Linked DNA regions of Homo sapiens: region 2 is linked to region 1. Evidence: promoter capture Hi-C in human tissues and cell types (Jung and others, 2019). All regions are on one chromosome and are shown on one strand. The core of a region is centred on a gene start or on the middle of the fragment in contact, and the rest is flanking DNA. Distances in the headings are between cores, read along the strand shown. Region 1 holds the start of ELOVL5 (ELOVL fatty acid elongase 5). Region 2 has its middle 50 kb from the start of KLHL31.

Evidence for each region. Contacts are between HindIII fragments. The study calls those that stand out against the background at their distance.
Region 2: a contact is called between a fragment that was not itself captured here and the fragment with the promoter of ELOVL5 in region 1, in 1 of the 25 tissues and cell types used here (heart left ventricle).

What each region holds. Positions count from the first base shown.
Region 1 is chr6:53,347,465-53,351,051 of GRCh38, forward strand. It overlaps ELOVL5 (ELOVL fatty acid elongase 5), which reads right to left and starts at 1,486. Exons shown (of 8, transcript NM_021814.5): 1 at 1,353-1,486. RefSeq lists a silencer at 887-1,326. The HindIII fragment of the contact is 18,484 bases long and covers 1-3,587 here.
Region 2 is chr6:53,714,074-53,717,413 of GRCh38, forward strand. No RefSeq gene overlaps it. Among named protein-coding and RNA genes, the nearest start is that of KLHL31, 50 kb to the left of the region's middle. The HindIII fragment of the contact is 5,838 bases long and covers 1-3,340 here.

The sequences.
Region 1 (3,587 bases), core at 236-2,735:
GAAATGCTTTTGGCTGAGACGTGCAAGCAAAACAAGTGCAGACCAACAGGTTATCTGCCAAGCGGTTAGGAGAATGAGTTACAAAACCTGACAAGCAACATCAGCTCTTCCGTACAATTCTATGAAGCACTTCCTGCCACGGGTCCCGCTATTTAAAACAAATTAGGCTGCTCGCTCCCCACAAATCCCATCTAGCACCTCTCGGTTCCTCAGTCTAGCTAATAAACCATGCACTGGATTCTTCCGAAAGAGACCCCCCGCCCCCGACCCCGCCACCTCCGCCACTTTGCATAACTGGCCAAATGCATTCTCCAAATTTGCAATCAAGGAGCTTAATTCACAATTGTGGATGGGGCGGGGGGAACCGCCAAGTGCAAGAACACGGAACGGTTGCAAGACGCAGTTCAGCAAGAACAACTCTTGCTCTAGGCATTGCTCCGTCGACCCGAGGTGGTGGGGTGGGAGAGTCTTACCGGCGTGGAAACAGTAAAAAGGCACTTTTCCTTACAACTCGCAAGACAACACACACTCTAGCTCCCCCGGCGCAGAGCACAACCGCCCCCCCGCCGCGCGCCTCCCTCGCAGCCAACCGCTCCCGCCTCTCCAGGGATCAGGCTCCCAGAAAGGGCCGCCCCGGTCGCCCCCGAGTCCCCGCCCTCTCGCTTTCCCACCAGCCTCATCCCTCCCTGAGTACCAAGGGCTGCCGTTGTCTGGTTTCAATAAAAACTGAAGCGGTCCCGAGCTAGCAGGCTTCCCTCCGAGGGGCGGACGGAAGGTCCGCAGGGTTAACGGAAGCGGAGAGAACAGGACAAAAAGGAAAGGCCGGAGAGTCCCCCCAGCGGCGCCCGGTGCCCGCAGACCCTCGCACAGGCTCTTCGAACTCACCCGGGTTTCGCCGACTCCAAAGAAAGCGCGCTCCCTCCGAGAGCGCTCCCCCGGCTCTCCCGCCGCGCGCTCCGGCCCGCAGGGCGGGAGGACCCAGGCGGACAGATCCATCCCTCCGCGTCTGGTGTGGGCACGGTGTCGTGCCCCGCGGCGCCTGTCAGCGCGCACAGGTGGGACCGCAGCACAGAGAACGCTCCCGAGCGCCCTGCCTCAGCCTCGGCGTGGGGCGAGCCGCCCGCGCCCGCACCCGCACCCCTTTCCCCGCGCCCGAGGAGCCGGGCTGTACCCCGGAGCCGGCGGAGCTGGAGGCCGCGGGCGGAGCGCGGGTTGCCCCGGCAGCTCTTTCTCGGCACCAGGTCCGAGACCTAACGGCAGTTCTCTCTGACCGCTTCCCGGCCGCGCGCTCGCGCGGGTGTCATGGCCGAGCGGCGGCCCCCGACGAAGTTTCCCGGAGCTGACGGCTTTACCTTTTAGCCCAAGGGGCGGCAGCAGCTTTGAGCAGCAGCAAGGCGGCGGCGGCGGAGGGAGCGCGGGTGGCAGCCGGCGCAGAGGCGGATGTAGAAGGAGACACCGGTGGCTAGGACCCGCGCGATGGGAAGAGGAAGGCGCCGGCTATCTACAATCAGAACGTGGGCTGACCGTGACGTCACAATGGCGCGGCCAGCCAATCGGGACCCGAAGGATGAATCAAGCGCTATGATGTCATGCGGCCCGGGAGCCAATCGCGGGACAATAGAACTTTCGTGATCGTAAATTCCAGAATCCGATGCGGTGGAGAGCCTAGGCCGGGGTTGGCCCCTCGGTTCCACGTGTCTCTGGGAAATTTTTTTCCCCTTTCTTCCTAATAAGCCTGCGTGGAACGCAGAGCCTGCGCAATAGCCCCGGTGAAGTTGTCGATGCCCTGAACTCTGGTTTTTTTACTGCCAGGCGTGGCAGGAGTCTGTGGCCGCATTTGGGTGGCAGAAGCCCACCCTCGTTACGGTCTCCTCTATGAGTTATGTCATGCTGAAGGGGATCCACTTCATCGTTAAAGCTGAAAGGGTTAAATGCCCACGGAGACCGCCGGAGTGAAGGTCTGCAGTTGAACAAGATAAAGGAACAAGAACAAAACGACTCAAAACTGTTGTAACCATAACTCCCTTGCAAAGGATTTACCGTGTATTTTTCTTAGGGATTCTGATTTTTCTTTGGAAGCCACTATCAACTCCATTTCTACTCTAGAAATTATTCTAAAGGATTGTTAAATGAGGAAAGATGGAATCAGTGTCTTTTCAGCTAAGCATATTTAAGCACTTAAGACAAAGGGGGTTCAGGGCATAAACGGAAGATCCTTGCTGTTTTTCACTGATATTTGGATAATTAAAGACCTTCATTAGCTTTGTATCCTACTGTTTCCCCATTCAAACCCCAGAGATTTAGCCTTTCTTCGTGTGCCCCTCTTGCTGTATTCTTACTCCTCTATGTGCATCCACCTAACAGTCGGCTATTTAATGTAGGCAAATTTATTCTTTTTTTTCTTTTTTTTTCTTTTTTGAGACAGAGTCTCGCTCTGTTGCCCAGGCTGGAGTGCAGTGGCGCGATCTCAGCTCACTGCAACCTCCACCTTCCGGGTTCAAGCGATTCTCCTGCCTCAGCCTCCCAAGTAGCTGGAATTACAGGCACGCGCCACCACACCCGACTAATTTTTGTATTTTTAGTAGAGATGAGGTTTCGCCATGTTGGCCAGGCTGGTCTCGAACTCCTGACCTCAGGTAATCCGCTCGCCTCAGCTTGCCAAAGTGCTGGGATTACAGACGTGAGTCACCGAGCCTGGCCGGCAAATTTATTCTTTTACATATTTACAATGTAATGCTTATCACGTGCCAGCTGTGTTCCAGGCAGTGGGCCATTGCAATAGGAATGCAAGTATACAAACCATGTACAAATTAAGTAAATTAAACATATACAAAGAATCGAGATTGTCAGTTGCCATTGAGCTCCACAAACACTGAATGACTTCAATTTGCTAGATACTATGTTAGGTATTCAAAATTTGAAACCTTCAAGGACTTCTTGGGCCTGGAAAATGATACAGTCAGGAAGCAACTACAATGCAGAGTGGTAAATGCTGCTATGGACATCAAGGGACATGAGAAAAGCATATGCTGGTGGCATAGACTATTTTTTTGAGATATCTCCTTCATTCTTCACGCTTCTGCCAGTAGTCCAAGGCCAGGGTTCATCTCTGTCATCCCATCTAAGTTTTGCCTTTCCAGGTTTTAAAAGTTTCTAATTTAACTTGAGATTCCAAAAGTCTTAAGTTTTACGCCGCACTTGTTTGAATTGTGCTTACCTATCAATAAAATGTTTTAAGCCCATTTGACCAAAATATCTTTAAGTTCAGGCTTATATAACTGTCAAGCTATGCATTAAATATCAAGTGATTTTTCTTATTGTATGATTAAGTATGACGTTTTGCTGTTTTTTCCCATCCCCCAAAGGCTGCGTTTTTACACAGTTCTTTGTTGATGTGTGTATCTTGGTTTCCATTATAGCATCACCACCCTGTATTGTAGTTGCTTTCTGATGGCATCATCTCACTCAATCCTTGGGGTATATGTACCCCACTTTAAAGACCACCGCTTTAGGTAGTAAACTCCGTTGAAGGGGAAAACATGTTGAATTTTGCTCCTTATTGATCTGTAGATCTTAGTACAATCCCT
Region 2 (3,340 bases), core at 658-3,157, 370 kb after region 1:
AAGTAGACCTAACAGACATCCAGTTAGCGTTCTTGATGAAGAGGAGACAGTGAAGATGGGGAAGAAAAAATACCTGAAGAGATGATGGCTAGTTTTTCACAGTTGGCGAAGGACACTAATCCACACAAAACATGTCATAATGAAAAAGTAGCCAGGGTGAAAGAGGATTACCCTCAAAGGGAAAAAACTAGGCTGCTGACTTTTTGACAGCGTCTTTAAAACCTTCCCACACATAGTGAAAACCTTTCAATGATTTTCTGTCAGTTTCTGGATAGAGGCAAGAACAGCATAGCCTACAATTCTGTGCCTAGCCTTTTTCGGGGCCACTGTCCCTGCAGCGGTCTGAGCTCCATGGCTTTCTTTCAGTTTCTTGTATACTGCTGTCTTTCCTCATGGCTGGGGACTTCAGACAGGATGTTCTCTTTGCCTGAAATATTTTCTACTTTTCCCCTCCTTTAATCTAGTTAGCTACCACTCGTCCTTCAGGACTCTGATAAAATGTCCCTTTCCTGGAAAGCATAGTGAAAATTTGTTAGTTTCTGTGTTTGTTTGCTTTCCTGCCCAACATCTGACCTCCACGTCCTACTTAAGGGGACTCTTATAAATTATATCCTTTGACTGATAAGGTTTGAAACTTAATATTCAGAATAGCTATTAAAAGGTATTCAACATATGCAATAGGACCACATACAAGTAAAACGTACTTTTCTTATGTATTTCAGTGAAATGTCTCGTTACTTAATAAGTAATAAGAAAACATAGTATTTTTCTTATGTGAAGTATTTTATCTTCACATCTTCTAAATTCCAATATAAATTCAGTTGAAGTACTTCCACAAACACCTTTATAAAGCTGCATGGCCACTTTTAAGAAAATAGATAAAAAAGTCTGTCTTCCTTGACAGGTGCAAAGGGTGAAAGGCACCCCGTCCATAAGAGTGAGCTAGGGTCATATTGTTTCTCAGTGGTGAAGTACTGTAGTCAACTCTTTCTCTGAACTTCAAAGCAAGCTGACTTTGTCTTTAACCACATATGGGTTTGGCTCAAGGACAAAGAAGATCTTTGTTTATGGGACTCTGGGAGCATTCAGTAATTTTTCAGGTGGAGGGTGACCTGCAGAATTGTTCATTTAAATGACATGCCTTATCAGAAGCCAGAAAGAAGACTTCCTCATGAAATGCTCTTCAACCTCTGCACTTTCCTAAGATGTTTATTGAAAAGGCTCTTTGTAGAAAAATAGTTTGAGAGTGACTTCTAAAAGGTAGTTTTTAAAGTAATAAATATTGATTTTTTTAATCCAAAGAGGTATAAAAACAAGCCAAAACATGGACCACGATCCCCCCATCCACTTAACCCACTTATAAATTTAATCTTTACAGAACTGTACAAAACCAATAGGATTAGCTGCAACCTCATTCCCTTCTTATCCCCAACATTCCATTATAAAAAAGCAAATATCCTAAAATACTATCTATTTATAAAGTACATATTTTTGTACAAAAGTAATTATGCTATCCAGCACTTTGCTATTTGTGCTTAATATATACAAAAAGGAATTTAACCCTGGGTAGTTCTAACTGTATGAATCATTGCTTTACAATAAAACAGAATAAAAACTATAGGGCAGTTAGAATGATGCTTTTAGCCCAGCCTAAAAAACTCAGAGGGATGTAGCATCATCAGATAACTTTTTGGACTACCTTTGTGACCAAAAAAAAAAGGCTTTGGCTACTGTCACGGATCAGGCTACAGGTTTTACAGGTAGACTTGAATTCAAGCTGTAGAATTGACAAGTTAGGTTGTCCTTGGGCAAATAACCTCCTAACCCCAAATGTCCTTATCTAAACAGTGGAGCAAACAACACTTAGATTACAGGGTTGTTGTAAGCAATTTTTTGTTTGTTTCTTTGTTTTTTTGTTTTGAGACTGAGTCTCACTCTGTCACCCAGGCTGGAGTGCAGTGGTGAGATCTCAGCTTACTGCAACCTCTGCCTCCTGGGTTTAAGCAATTCTTGTGCATCAGTCATCTAAGTAGCTGGAATTACAGGTGTGCACTATCACATCTGGCCTTTTTTTTTTTTTTTTTTTGTATTTTTAGCAGAGACAGGATTTCACCATGCTGGCCAGGCTGGTCTCAAACTCCTGACCTCAAGTGAGCCACCCACCTTAGCCTCCCAAAGTGCTGGGATTACAGGAGTGAGCCACCATGCCTAGCCCTATTGTGAGCAATAATGAAATAATATATATAAAGCACTTAGCACTGTGGTCACATAGGAATCCTGCAGAAATTATAATTTTTTTAAAACTTTTTTTAAAAAGGTTGGTAAATAGGTAGCCTCCAAGTTTTCGTGCTTGCCTTAATTCCATCTTCTGGGAGAAGCCTGTAGGTCTTCTGTAAAAGGGAGTCCTTTCAGGCCCCGCTTCATGGTTTAGTGTCCAAGGTAATGTCTTGGTCCACCAGACAGCGCTTTCCTAGCCTGTGCTCTTCAGTCATGACTAAATCTTCTTCATTTGCATTGAAATCTTCTCTTTTATTTTTACATTTTCTACAAGAAGCAATTCCTCTTGTTTGGCAGAACATTGGCTGCACTAATTAGGATGACTTCAACGAAGGGCAAATCACAGAGAGCAACTCGAATAGGGTGTCTACTTGGGCATGGTTGTAGTTCATATTGACCGGAATACATGACCCAAAGCAGGTTTGGAACAGAGAGCACAGAAGCAAAGCGAAAAGATGGAGAGTTTCGTTTTAGTGAGTTCAATGCATCTGTGAGGAAATGTCCAAAAATGCGTTGGACTGTTGGTCATCAGCCTATGAGAAGGACTTGGGGGATTGGGGATACAAATTTAGAAGTCATCAATGCACAGGAGATTGGACCTGGGAAAAGACACCTGGAGAACTATTTTAGGCACAAAAAGATAAAGGAGAGCCTGCAAAGGAGCCTGGGAAGAGGTGGTCAGAGGTAGGAGGAAGGTGAAAAGTTTAGTTTTCAGGAACCAGTAGAGGAGGGTTTTAGGAATGAAGACTGGTTGACCATGTCCAGTGCTGCAAAGAGATCAGGTAAGTAAAGAACTGAAAGATTTCAGATTTCCATCACTCCACAAAGGTTCCTCATATTGGATTGTGATAATGGTGTGTATGCTCTGACACTGATTCTATGACTTCAACTGGGTGCCCAACACTTCAATTCCTCTCTGATACTAAACACCTGGAGTTAGCACAGACCCCACATGCGAAGGGCTCAGTCCCCAAATTGCCTTCACATCTGACATCAGCCACCAATCTCAGGTATCCCAAGCTACCTGTACTTCTGCCTAGCTGACTACAAATTTGGGGGATCT